2 separate regions of the Homo sapiens genome follow, and region 1 is linked to region 2. The links are contacts of gene promoters, found by promoter capture Hi-C in human tissues and cell types (Jung and others, 2019). All regions are on one chromosome and are shown on one strand. Each heading gives the region's core, a stretch centred on a gene start or on the middle of the fragment in contact. The rest is flanking DNA. Distances are from core to core; before and after follow the strand shown.

Region 1 (6,903 bases), core at 3,698-6,197, 470 kb before region 2:
TTGAGGCAGAAGAATCCCTTGAACCCAGGAGGCAGAGGTTGCAATGAGCCGAGATTGCGCCACTGCACTTCAGCCAGGGTGACAGAGCAACACTACGTCTTGAAAAAAAAAACAAAAAACAGGTTTTTAAAAAAATTATGGGCCGGGCGCGGTGGCTCACGCCTGTAATCACAGCACTTTGGGAGGTGGAGGTGGGTGGATCACCTGAGGTCAGGAGTTCGAGACCAGCCTGGCCAACATAGTGAAACCCCGTCTCTACTAAAAATACGAAAAATTAGCCAAGCATCGTGGCAGGCGCCTGTAATCCCAGCTACTGGGGAGACTGAGGCAGGAGAATTGCTTGAACCCGGGAGGCAAAGGTTGCAGTGAGCCAAGATCGCACCATTGTACTCCAGCCTAGGCAACAGGGCAAGACTCAGTCTCAAAAAAAAAAAAAAAAAAAAAAAGGTTAAACATAGAATTGCCACATGACACAGCAGTAACACTCCTAGGTATCTACCCAAGAGAAACAAACATGTAACATCCACGCAAAAACTCACACACCTATGTGCATAGCAGCTTTATTCATAACATCCACAAAGTGCACACAACCCAAATGTACATCCACAGATGAAGGGAAAATGCTCCATTCATACAATGACACGGTGTTTTGCAATATGAGGCAATGAGGCTCGGACACAGGCTACAGATTGGATGAACCTCGAAAGCATCATGCCCAGTGAAAGAAGCCAGATACAAAAGACCACATAGTGAGTGATTCCATTGATACGAAATGTCCAGATAAGCAAATCCATAGAGACAGGAAGTGGATTAGTGGTTGCCAAGGGCTGGGAGAGGGGGATCAGGAGTGACTGGAATGGACTTTATTTTGGGGGGTTGATGGATATGTTCTAAAATTGATGTGATGGCCGTGAGCTGTGGCTCACACCTGTAATCCCAGCACTTTGGGAGGCTGAGGCGGGCAGATCACTTGAGGTCAGGAGTTCAAGATCAGCCTGGCCAATCTGGTGAAACCCCATCTCTACTAAAAATACAAAAATGAGCCGGGTGTGCTGGCGCGCACCTGTAGTCCCAGCTACTCGGGAGGCTGAAGCAGGGGAATCACTTGAACCCGGGAAGTGTAGGTTGCAGTGAGCCCAGATCATGCCACCACACTCCACCTTGGGTGTCAAAGCAAGACTCCGTCTCGGAAAAAAAAAAAAAAAATTTATGTGATGATGGCTGCCCGACTCTGAATATACTAAACACCACTGAATTATCACTTTACACAGATGAATTGTACAGTATGTAAACTATATCTCAATACAGCTGTTATTTAAAAAGTTCTTGCCCGGCGCAGTGGCTTGCGCCTATAATCCCAGTGCTTTGGGAGGCCAAGGAGGGCGGATTATGAAGTCAAGAGATCGAGACCATCCTGGTCAACATGGCGAAACCTCATCTCTACTAAAAATACAAAAATTAGCTGAGCGTGGTAGCACGCGCCTGTAATCCCAGCTTCTCGGGAGGCTGAGGCAGGAGAATCCCTTGAACCCGGGAGGCGGTGGTTGAAGTGAACCGAGATTGCACCACTGCACTCCAGAAAAAAAAAAAAAAATCCCCTTTGGAGCTGAGTTAAGGAGAAAAGAGAACAGGGAAAAGGAGGAGGCAAGAGGTTACAGTTTCAGATGCAGTGCTCGGGGATGCTCTTATTGCAAAGATGATGTTTTAATAAAGATCTGAAAGAGGAGCTGGGCGCAGTGACTAACGGCTGTAATCCCGGCACTTTGGTAGGCCGAGGTGGGCAGATTACTTGAGGTCAGGCCTTCAAGACCAGCCTGGCCAACATGGTGAAACCTCATCTCTACTAAAAATACAAAAATTAGCCGGGCATGGTAGCAGGCCCCTGTATTCCCAGCTACTCGGGAGGCTGAGGGAGGAGAATCGTTGGAACCCGGGAGGCAGAGGTTGCGGTGAGCTGAGATCGCGCCACTGCACTCCAGCCTGGGCAACACAGCAAGACTCTGTCTCAGAAGAATAAAATAAAAGGAGAGGAGAGGGAGATTCTAACACAGAAACACAGAGACAGACACACAGGGGTCAAGGCCAGGTGATGACAGTGGCAGAGATTGGAGTGACGAAGCCACAAGCTGAGAAACACCAAGGACTGGCGGCCACCCCCAGAAGCTGGAAGAGGCAGGAAGGATCCTCCCCTGGAGCCTCCAGAGAGGCCACAGATCTGCAGATACCTGGATTCCAGACTTCCGCCCCCCAGGGACTTGCTCAATCCCAGAGGACCCACCGAACAGAAGACGCAGACTTGGTTCTTCTGTGCTATCAGTTTCTCGAAGGTCTACAGAGGCCAGATGCCAAGTTCTCTGACTTACACAGGCCTTGCTTTTGGCTGAGGCTTCGATATCTGCGTCCTGCACCCTGGGATTATCTCCTCCTGGGGAGCATCCTTGGGGCCAGTCACACCTGGCACCCTGCCCTCGTAGCCTTCCTGAGTCAGCACAGCTCCTGGTCCACGGGAAGTCCTCCGTAAACAGCCTGAGCCACAAACATGTTGAGATGACGTCCTCGCAAGGCAGCTGAGGGCTGCAGTGATGCCTGTTATCTGCAGTCAGTTTTCCAACACATAGGAAGGCAATACAATAATTTAAAAAAAAAAAGGGGGGGTGGGCCGTGCACGGTGGCTCACGCCTGTAATCCCAGCACTTTGGGAGGCCGAGGCGGGCGGATCACGAGGTCAGGAGATCGAGACCATCCTGGCTAACACGGTGAAACCCCGTCTCTACTAAAAATACAAAAAAATTAGCTGGGCTTGGTGGTGGGCACCTGTCGTCCCAGCTACTTGGGAGGCTGAGGCAGGAGAATGGCGTGAACCCAGGAGGCGGAGCTTGCAGTGAGCTGAGATCGCCCCATTGCACTCCAGCCTGGGTGACAGAGCGAGACTCTGTCTCAAAAAAATAAAAGTGGGGGTGTCAGCTCCATGAGGCCAGACACTGTGTCTGTTTTGTCCTGTGTCCTCTGTGCCCAGGACACTATCCTCTGTGCTCAGGACACTGTCCAGCACACAGTAGTTGCTCAATAAGTATTTGTGAATGTTGTCTTAAAATAGAAGTTGGCCTTCCAAAAGGATTTCTTTGCTATGCACAGCATTTTATGTTTTTTCATTAATTTTTATTTAATTATTTTTTTGAGATGGAGTCTCACTCTGTCACCCAAGCTGGAGTGCAGTGACGCGATCTTGGCTCACTGCAACTTCCGTCTCCTGGGTTCAAGTGATGCTCCTGCCTCAGACTCCTGAGTAGCTGGAATTACAGGCACCCGCCACTAGGCCAAGCTAATTTTAGTATTTTTAGTAGAGATGGGGTTTCAGCATGTTGGCCATGCTGGTCTTGAACTCCTGACCACAAGTGATCCACCTGCCTTGGCCTCCCAAAGTGCTGGAATTACAGGCGTGAGCTACAATGCCCAGCCATGTTTTTTTATTAATTGCTCATTTTTTTTTTTTTTTTGAGATGGGGTCTTGCTCTGTCACCCAGGCTGGAATCCAGTGGTGTGATTACAGCTCACTGGATCCTTGAACTCCTGGACTCAAGCTATCAAGCCACCTGAGTAGCTGGGCCTACAGGCATGAGCCACCAGGCACAGTTGATTTTTTTTTTTTTTTTTTGGAAATGGAGTCTTGCTCTGTTGCCCAGGCTGGAGTGCAGTGACAGGATCTCAACTCACTGTAACCTGTGTCTCCCAGGCTCAAGCGATTCTCCTGCCTCAGCCACCCAAGTAGCTGGGATTACAGGCTGAGCCACTGCGCCCAGCCAAATTAAAAAAAATTTTTTTTCTGTTGAGACGGGGGCTTACCACATTGCCCAGGCTGGTCTTGGAATCTTGGGCTCAATCGATCATCCTCTCACCCCACAGCCTCCCAAAGTGCCAGGATTACAGGTATGAGCCACCACTCCTGGCAGTCACCCACATTTTAAAAATAAGAGATTGCAAGCAGGGCACAGTAGCTCACGCCTGTAATCCCAGCACTTTGGGAGGCCAAGGCAGGTGGATCACCTGAGGTCAGGAGTTTGAGACCAGCCTGGCCAACATAGTGAAACCCTGTCTCTACTAAAAATACAAAAAGTTAGCTGGTGTGGTGTTGCATGCCTGTAATCCCAGCTACTCGGGAAGCTGAAGCCTTTTTGTATTTTTAGTAGAGATGGGGGTTTCACCATGTTGGCCAGGCTGGTCTCGAACTCCTGACCTCAAGTGATAACACCCACCTCGGCCTCCCAAAGTGTTGGGATTACCGGTGTGAGCCACCGTACCCGGCCTCTTTCAGGTCTTTCTTCAGATGTCACCACCTCAGATTCTGGCCACCCTTCCTGAAACTGCACACCCTATACATACACCGCCCTTGGCTACCGAATTTTTTCTCGTTAGCCTTTTTCACCATCTAATAGGTATTGCATTTACTTATCGTGTTATTTTCTGTCTCTATAACAACACTGGGAGGCGTACGAGGGTAAGGGCTGAAGGCTCTCTTGTCCTCAAGGCCATGTACTATTTATTACATACATGAATGAATGAACGACTGCATTTCTTCCTTTTTTTATTCCTCACCTACTTAAGGTTCGAGCTCCCTGAGCCCATTGGCCAACACCTCTGGAGTCTGACCACGCCTAGAAACACTGCGCATGCTCCGTTGCTAGCCAGCCCAGGCAGGGCGCTGAATCGGCACAAACCAGTCTCACTTCTTGTACCGCAGTGGGGAGGTTGGAGAGAATTTTTTCCCATGAAAGGGCATACGTTGCCCGTCCCCTTCCCCGAAGAACGCACTAGGAATACTGTTCCTGCGTTTGCATGAGCTGTGGCACCAGCACCGACTCAGCCTTCCGGGCCTCCCTCATGCACGGAGCCTCTCACTAGGTCTCACCCGCGGCTGCGTTGGTGCCGTCCGGCACGGTCACGTGGGCGAGAAAATGGCGGCCCCCAGACCGCACTGCGGGCGTCGCGGCAGGTGAAGCGGTGGTGGCAGAGGCGCCTGCGGTTACTGGCCGGGCCGACGGGTCCTGAGTCTCCAGAGCTCGGTGAGGCGTCCCGGAGGCGGCGATCACGGTGTGGGGCCCGGGTCTGGCGGGCGGTGGCACCGGGAGCGCCTCGTTAGGGAATCCGGTCTCAGGGATTCGTTGACTGTGGATGGGGCGGGTTAAGGGGTCTCGAGTCCCGGCGATCTCTTTCCTCTGGGATTTTTTACATGAAAGAGTGCCCACCTCACGTCCTGAAGCTCCTATGTCGTACGGTTGGGTCTCAATGGTCCCCAGTGCCCTGCCAGCTCGCACAGGCCTGCCCTCTGGTTTCTGATGACCCCTCTTTAAAGGTGTCACTCTCCTTTGATGGTCACCTGTGCTTAGGTGGCTACACTGCCCTCGTCAAGCCCAGGCAGCCTTGCTGACGCCACTGTTCACCAGAGAGGGCTGCCAGCATGCCATAGCCAGCCTGTCTTGAGATGAAGCATCCGCCAGGTTCTCAGCCGATCTGGAAAGAGAGGGGTCCCTTCTCCCCTTGGCTGTGTTCTTTTATCCTAAGTCATTCAACAAAGCGTTGGTGGTTTAGAGCCCGACTCTGGAGCCAGACTTCCTGGATTCCTAACTCTTCACGCTGCTCCCAAGCAAGTTCCCAAGCACAGTCCCAAACTGTGCCTCAGTTTCCTCACCTGTAAAATGGGGACAATCTTAGTAACTACCTCACAGGGTAGTGATGTAGATCGAATGAATTAATGAATGTAAAGAGCATGGAGTGCCTGGCGCGTAGCAAATGCTACATAAGTGTCAGCTGCTATTGTCACGGTTGTCGTTTTTATTTTATTTATTTATTTTGAGACAGGGTCTTGCTTTGTAGCTCAGTCTGGAATGCAATGGCACGATCTCGGCTCACTGCAACCTCCGCCTCTCGAGTTCAGGCGATTCTCCTACCTCAGCCTCCCGAGTAGCTGGGATTACAGGCGCCCACCACCACGCCCAGCTAATTTTTGTATTTTTAGTAGAGATGGGGTTTCACCATGTTGGTCAGCTGGTCTCGAACTCCTGAACTCAGATGGTCTGTCCACCTCGGCCTCCCAAAGCGCTGGGATTACAGGCGTGAGCCACCGCGCCCAGCCGGTTATTGTTTTTATTGAGGCCCTACTGCGTGCAGGTCATTGCACTAAGTGCTGGGAATACAACAGTGACCAAGATAGACTCAGTCCCAGCCTTCAGAGTTCTATTCTAATGAGGGATAAGACCAATCACAAGCAACTAAACCAATACTTTCCAATATGATATCTAGGAGTCTTAGGCGCCGTGGAGAAAAATAAAGCTGAATAAGTGAAAAGAGATGGAAGAGTAACATTGTCCATTGTGATCAGGGAAGGCTTCCATGAGGAAGTGATGTTGGAGACCCAGGAAAGCAAGAGGATGAGCACGGGTGTTCCTGGACCAAACTGAGGGTCGGGCTGCTATTTCTCATGGTCCAATAACGAGATGCAGATTAACTGGGGAGGAAGAGAGTTTTTATTTCTGTAACCGGTTACAGGGAGAAGGCCTGGAAAATATCGCCAGACCAACTCAAAATGACAAAGTTTTCCAGAGCTTATATACCCTCTAAGCTCTCCATCTACATGTAACTGAGCATCCATCTAAAGACTTAAAGTGACTAACTTCTTTTAATCTATAACTAAGATCTGAATCCTGAAGACTTTCCTTTGGAACCTCAGTAAATTTACTTAATCTAAATGGGTCCAGGTGCTGGGGTGATCACCCTTATCTCATCTCCAGTGGGTCCAGGTGCTGGGGTGATCATCCTTATCTTGTCTCCTGCTAAATCATGGAGGTTTGGGGAGTTCTTCAGACACCCAGTAAAACTTGTTTCATCCTAAACGGGTCACATTAAGAA
Region 2 (6,825 bases), core at 995-3,494:
ACCTTGTCTCTATAAACAATAAACAAAACATAAAGAGATGGTGAAGGGGAAAAGGGGAAGAGTTTTGTGAAGAGCCTTGTGGGAAGAGAGATGAGTTTGGATTTATTTTGAGGGCAATAGGGAGCTAGTGAGTACTACACACACACACACACACACACACACACACACACACACACACACAATTGTATCTTTATCCCAGGCTGTGTCTCTTTTCCTCCCTTCCCAGAGCTGCCCAACCTCATCGTTCAGGTCTCATCTCCAAGGCTACCCTCCCCCAAGGGTCCTCTCCCAGACACCCCACATAAGCAGGTTTGCTTTTGTTCATCTCTATCACTGCCCTCTAAACTCTTCCTCTGTCTGTACAAATAGTCCCATAATTACCAAGCTGTGAACCTGCCTAGCCTGTCACTCACATCCCACAAACTCAGAGAGGGCAGGGATCTGTCTCCCTTATCCACCCTTACAATCCCTGTGCCTGGAAGGATGCCTGACACGTCATAGGTGCTCTGTAAATATCTGTGGGCTGGAAAACGATGGCTTTAAATTTGATAAGGGCTTTTTTTTTTTTTTTTTGAGACAAGGTCCTGCTCTGTCACCCAGGCTGGAGTGCAGTGATGTGATCTCAACTCAGTGCAGCCTTGACCTTCTGGGGCTCAGGTATCTCCCGCCTCAGCCCCCCAAGTAGCCGGGACCACAGGTGTGCATCACCATGCCTGGCTAATTATTTTTGTATTTTTTGTAGAGATACAAAAAACACAAAAATGTTTTTTTGTATTGTCGCGGTGTTGTCCACACTGGTCTTGAACTCCTGGGCTCAAGCGATCCTCCCTCCTCAGCTTCCCAAAGTGCTGGAGCTACAGGCATGACCCACCACCCCTGGCCCATTGATAAGGGCTCTTGTGCCCTTTTGTAAGGGTACAAAATGGGTTTTTGTAACCCTAACCCTTAGGTACCATTAGGTACTCGATCACCTAAGGACACAAGTCCAAGTGTCATCAAGGGGCATGGATTTTTCTCTGTTTTGTTCCCAGCTGTGCCCCAGTGTCTACAGCAGTGTGTGGTCCACAGTATGCATTTAGTACACGTTTGTTGATTGACTTCACAAACCTCTCCTGAGGTTTCTCCAAAGAGAATAAGAACTTCCCACTCCCCGGGTGGGCCTGAAGGATGCTGGCTGGATGTCTGTGGTCTCTGGTCGGGGCTGGAGCCTTTGCCGTGGGAGAGACTTGAGTCTGATGGCAGAGCTGTGGTTCTTCCAGTTCTGAGTGGGACACGGCTCCTGCCTTCAAGAAACCCAGTCTGAGAGGGGAGACAGCCCAGTCCACTGGTGATGGCAGTAGGAACACAATTCCCATCTGTGGAAGTTTGCTCTGTGTAGGGAGAGGCTGACAGCGTTCATGCACTATCTCATTTAAGTGCAGTGCCCAGTGCGGTGGCTCCCGCCCGTAATCCCAGCACTTTGGAAGGCCGAAGAGAGAGGCTTGAGTCCAGGAGTTCAAGACCAGCCTGGGCAACATAGTGAGACGCCCCCCTACTCCATCTCTGCAAAAAATTAAAAAATTAGCTGGGCGTGGTGGTGCACACCTGTAGTCCCAGCTACTGGAGAAGCTGAGGGGGAAGGATCGCTTGAGCCCAGGAGTTCGAGGCTGCAGTGAGCCATGATTGCCCCACTGTACTCCAGCCTGGGCAACACAGGGAGACCCTATCTCTGCAAAAAATTAAACCCTAAAGATAGCGCACCACCCCTGACCTTTTGCAGAGACTACTGAGGCCCCCAGAGGGCGAGGGCCCGGCATGATCTGGGAAGCAGTGTTTGCTGTGAGATTCCCTTTCTGGCAGGGTTCCCTGCCAGCGCTTGGCAAGGCTGCGTCCTGCTGACCCTTCAATCTCAACCCAATGTCACTTGCTCAGAAAAGCCATTTCCGACTCCAGACTGGTCCCCGCTCCCCGCAAGCCCCCCCCCCCGCTCCCACGGTGGGTAACACGGTGTGAATTTCTTCACTGGTTTTTCTTCTCCCGCCCCTCCGGGAGGGGGTGGGGACCCTGTTTTAAGGCACTGGGCGCCTCCCCACCCGGCCTCAGTTTCCCCAACGGCCCAGGGACTGAAGGAAGGGGGCGGGTGCCCGGGGGCCGGGGGGGGCGCGGGCGCGGGGAGGGGCGGTGCGCGGGGGTGGGCGCGGGGCGGGCCGCGGGCGCGTGGGGGCGGCGGCGCCACCTTAAGGCGGCTCAGCCCGCGGCTCCCGGCCGAGCCCCGCCGGAGGGAGGCGGCTCCGCGCGGGGCCCGCCGCCCGCGCCGCCGCCACCGAAACCCGGCCGCGGCGCGCCCGACCTTCTGCGCCGGCTGCCGCGGCCGCCCTCGCCGCGCTCCCGCCCCGGCCGCTGCCCCTGCCCGCCCCGCTCGCCCCGCGCACCCCAACCCGGGGAGGGGCTCCCACGACCCCGGGCGCGCGCGCTTGGGGGCGCGCCAGGGACTCCAGGGTCCCTTGCCCCGCGCCGCTTCTCCCTCCTCCCTCTTTCTTCGGGCAGCCTCCCCACCACCCCACTTCAGCCTCCCCCACTCTTGCCGCCTCCATATCATCAAGCTCTGGTGGCGCCTGGGGGGCTTTTCGGATCGGCAGGATGTACCCCCAGGGAAGGCACCCGGTGAGTGCGGACTGCGGGGAGGGGGCCCCCAGTGTCCGGGAACTCAGACCCTGACGTTTCCCCCACACCCCCCCCAGACCCCGCTCCAGTCCGGCCAGCCCTTCAAGTTCTCGATCTTGGAGATCTGCGACCGCATCAAAGAAGAATTCCAGTTTCTTCAGGCTCAATACCACAGGTGAGGGGGGCCGCCCCAGGGGCCGCGGGAGTTCACCTGGGCGCCGGGGCGGGGCGAGGCCTCCGGGGTATAGGGCGGGGAGGAGGGGCTCCCGGTTGGAGGGGGGGCGCGACAAAGGCCTCCAGGTGGAAGCGCAGGTGCAGAGGGGTCTGGGGACAGTCAGAGCTGGGGCATTTGGAGCCCAGGAAGGGGCGGGGAGGGACTGGGACAGGAGGTGGGGGGAGGTCTGTAAGGAAGTCGGGAGGGGGAGATCCAGCCTCTCACTTTGGAAGCCGGCCCACATGGGGCGGGTGGGAGCCCCTTGCCCTCTCTCTTCTTCTCAGCCTCAAGCTAGAATGTGAGAAGCTGGCCAGCGAGAAGACGGAAATGCAGCGACATTATGTCATGGTGAGGGCACTTATGATGCCAGGGTGAGGGGAGAGGCGGGCAGGGCTTTGAGTCACGGTGGACTCTGGGGTAGGTCCCTGCCCCACTCCGAACCTCGTCTTCCCCGTCTGTACATTGGGCAGGTTGGGATTTCAGGCTCTCTAGGAGGGTCCTCCCAGCTCTGGGAATGGGGAGACAGGGAGGACCCCTCGCCTGATGGGAGTCTCTGTCGGGCCAGGGCCTCTGGACACTTCCTACCTGCCCTGCCTCTCTGGGGAGAGTAGAGGGGGCCCTTCCAGGCAGAGCCCCCGCTTCCTCCTCTGGGACCCCGTGGAGCTGGGGGGGGCTCTGCTTCCTGCTGTGATTCCCCTGAACCTGGGGACTCTTGGAAGACCCTGGCATCACCTATCTGGAGGAGGGCACCCATCTCCACCCTAGACGTTCTTACTTGGTTTTTCCTTTGCAGTATTATGAGATGTCGTACGGGCTCAACATTGAAATGCATAAGCAGGTAACTGGGTTGGGGTTACGCGTGTTCAGGAGGGAGGGTGGGGGTCTGGAAGCCCTGAGAAGGACCCAGAGTGGGCAGCCGGGGCCAGAGCAGACCTAGGGAACACGGGTCTCATCCTGAAATCTCCGCAGAGGTCACAGAGGGCCCATCTGGGACCAGGAAGACAGATTTCAGCCTCGTGGAAGGAAAATGAGTCCCACCTTCTGAAGACAGTATCTAGCAGTTGGAGCGTCCAGCAGAGATGCAGGCAGTGGGCAGGGGCCACCAGGCATCCCCATCAAGGAGGGCACATAGCAGAGGCAGGGCAGCCAGGCCAGGGAGGCTGTGGAAGTGACTTCTGTCCTAGGAGGGAGCTGGATGGCCACTCTTAGAGGTCCCTTTCAACCCAGAAAGTCTGAAGTTTTGAGATGGACCCCAGGTTCTGTTGCTGCTTTGAAGCTTCTGAGATTGGTCTCAGTGTGATTGGCTGGAAGGTTCCAAGATTGTTCTCCAGGCCCTGAATTTGATGCCATGGTTCAGACTGTGACCCCACTACTCCAAAATAGACCTCAAAACTCTGTGGCTGTCTTCAGGGCTTTGAGATTGACTCCAGTGTCGTAAGGCTCTGAGCCTCTTCTGGAGCTTCTCAGTGTGATCCAAGGTTCTGAGACAGACTTCAGGGTTCTGAAATAGACCTCAGGGTTCTGAGATTGACCTCAAGGTTCAGAGATAGACCTCAGGGTTCTGAGATTGACCTCAGTGTTCTGAGATAGACCTCACGGTTCTGAGATTGACCTCAGTTTTCTGAGATAGACCTCAAGGTTCTGAGATAGACCTCAGGGCTCTGAGATTGACCTCAGGGTTCTGAGATAGACCTCAAATTTCTGAAATTGACCTCAGGGTTCTGAGATAGACCTCAAGGTCCTGAGATAGACCTCAGGGTTCAGAGATAGACCTCAAGGGTCAGAGATAGACCTCAGAGTTCTGAGATAGACCTCAAGGTTCTGAGATAGACCTCAGGGTTCAGAGATAGACCTCAAGGGTCAGAGATAAACCTCAGGGTTCTGAGATTGTCCTATCTGTGTACTGAGATGTGTTAAAAGGTTCTGAGGTGTTCCTGAACTTGTGATCTCAAGGTTCAGAGATAGACCTCAGGGTTCTGAGATAGACATCAGGGTTCAGAGATAGACCTCAGGGTTCTGAGATAGACAGGGTTCAGAGATAGACCTCAGGGTTCTGAGATTGACCTCAGGGTTCAGAGATAGACCTCAGGGTTCTGCGATTATCATATCTATGTGCTGAGATGTGTTAAAAGGTTCTGAGGCTATTCCCGAACTTCTGATCTCAAGGTTCTGAGATAGACCTAAAGATTTTTTTTTTTTTTTTTTTTTTTTAAATTTTGAGACAAAGTTTCACTCTTGTTGCCCAGGCTGGAGTGCAATGACCTGATCTTGGCTCACTGCAACCTCTGCCTCCTGAGTGCAAGCGCCTCTCCTGCCTCAGCCTCCCGAGGAGCTGGGATTACAGGCGCCTGCTACCATGCCTGGCTAATATTTTGTATTTTTAGTAGAGACGGGGTTTCTCCATGTTGGCCAGGCTGGTCTTGAACTCCTGACCTCAGGTGATCCACCTGCCTCGGCCTCCCAAAGTGCTGGGATTACAGGAGTGAGCCACCTTGCCCGGCCAATAGACCCAAAGATTCTAAAATTGACTTTAGTGGTCCATGCTTAATCCTGAGATCCTGAGACTGGCCAGTGGTTTCTAAAGGGATGAGAGGGGTCCCAAACTTCTGAGCTTCATGGGCTCCTAGATTCTATCAGAATATTAGAATCAATGAGCAGAACCTTGTATTGGGACTTCCCGGTGGCTGGGAAGGAGAAGGGGGTGGGCTGGGAGTGTGGGGTGCCTGGGGTTGCCCACCCTGGCATGCTTTCCTGCATGTGTGGGGGTTCTGTTGGTTCTGATGTGGGCAGGAGGGGGCTTGTCTGCTGAAGCATGGCGTGGTCCCATGGGTCCACGCAATAGACCCCCCTTTATGGGGTGCGGGACACCCTGGGATCCCAGTTCCACCCTCCTGGTGGGAATAGGAGACACAGACTTCGCCAGACACACAGCACACCTGTAACTCAGGCAGAGGCAAAGTCCGTGGCCATTGTATGCCCGCCCCCTTCCCCACCCACACGCCTTCTCGTCTGCTCAGCCTCTTTGGGGCACCTGGGCCCAGACCCTCTCCAGATGAAATCCTTCCCTTGAGTGTGGCGTGCTGAGATCTCCACCTGGAGGCATCCCCAGCTGGTAGATCAGTCCTGGGAAGCGGAGGAGACCAAGAAAGGGGCCTTGCCTGGGACAGACGTGGGCCAAGCCGGGGCTGGAATCTGGGACTCCAGGCGGAGGCCCCTTTCCTTTGTTTCAGCTGAGCCCAGCACCTCTGAGTGTCTGCGTCTGAGTTGGGTGTCTGAGCGTCTGCCTCCTGCAAATCCCTGGCGGGTGTGCGTCTGGCGGGTGGTGTATCTGTGACTCGTAGGACCTCAGCCCTGGTCTTCCCAGCTCCAGGCCACCCTGGGCCTCGCTCAGCTGAGCACGCAGCCTGGTGGGGCTCTGAATCCCACCTCGGCCCATGCCATGCTAGCCTGAGTTCCCTCTGTGCACCTGCGGGCGTCACCTCCCCAACCCTTCGGCTTTGCCAACACCTGGTCCGCCTGGGAGTCCAGAGCTGGGTTGCAAATCTCTACCCCGCTCCAAGCTTCCTCTCATTGCTTCCTGCCAGGCGGAGATTGTGAAGCGTCTGAGCGGTATCTGCGCTCAGATTATCCCCTTCCTGACCCAGGAGGTGAGTGGGCCTGGGGGTGGGGGGAGGAGGGGAAGGGAGCCGGAAGAAGACGGGAGGGGGTAGGTCTGGGCGAGGACGCCCCAGGCACTGATTCTGCCGCGTAGCCTGCAGCACGGATAGAGACCATTTTCACTGCAGTAGTCCCGCAGCCCTGAGGCCAGGCATCCCGCTGGGGCAGGGGCTGCAGGGATGGAGGGAGGTGTTGGCTGAGGGTGAGGACTGGGGGCTGTTTTCCCCCTTGATGGGAAGCAAGGCATAGAGCTGACCCCCTCAAGCCCTGCAAGTTGGCTGCCTGGGTCTGAATCCTGGCTGTGTGGCCTC

What was found. Contacts are between HindIII fragments. The study calls those that stand out against the background at their distance.
Region 1: a contact is called between the fragment with the promoter of DOHH here and the fragment with the promoter of TLE2 in region 2, in 1 of the 25 tissues and cell types used here (dorsolateral prefrontal cortex).

The regions. Positions count from the first base shown.
Region 1 is chr19:3,498,718-3,505,620 of GRCh38, reverse strand. It overlaps DOHH (deoxyhypusine hydroxylase), which reads left to right and starts at 4,947. Exons shown (of 5, transcript NM_001145165.2): 1 at 4,947-5,060. It overlaps LOC105372245 (a long non-coding RNA gene), which reads right to left. Exons shown (of 4, transcript XR_936262.3): 4 at 4,570-5,686. RefSeq lists an enhancer at 4,836-4,945. The HindIII fragment of the contact is 49,740 bases long and covers 1-6,903 here.
Region 2 is chr19:3,024,699-3,031,523 of GRCh38, reverse strand. TLE2 (TLE family member 2, transcriptional corepressor) reads left to right here and starts at 2,244. Exons shown (of 20, transcript NM_003260.5): 1 at 2,244-2,643; 2 at 2,721-2,818; 3 at 3,142-3,205; 4 at 3,651-3,695; 5 at 6,442-6,504. The coding sequence starts at 2,620. The HindIII fragment of the contact is 30,131 bases long and covers 1-5,275 here.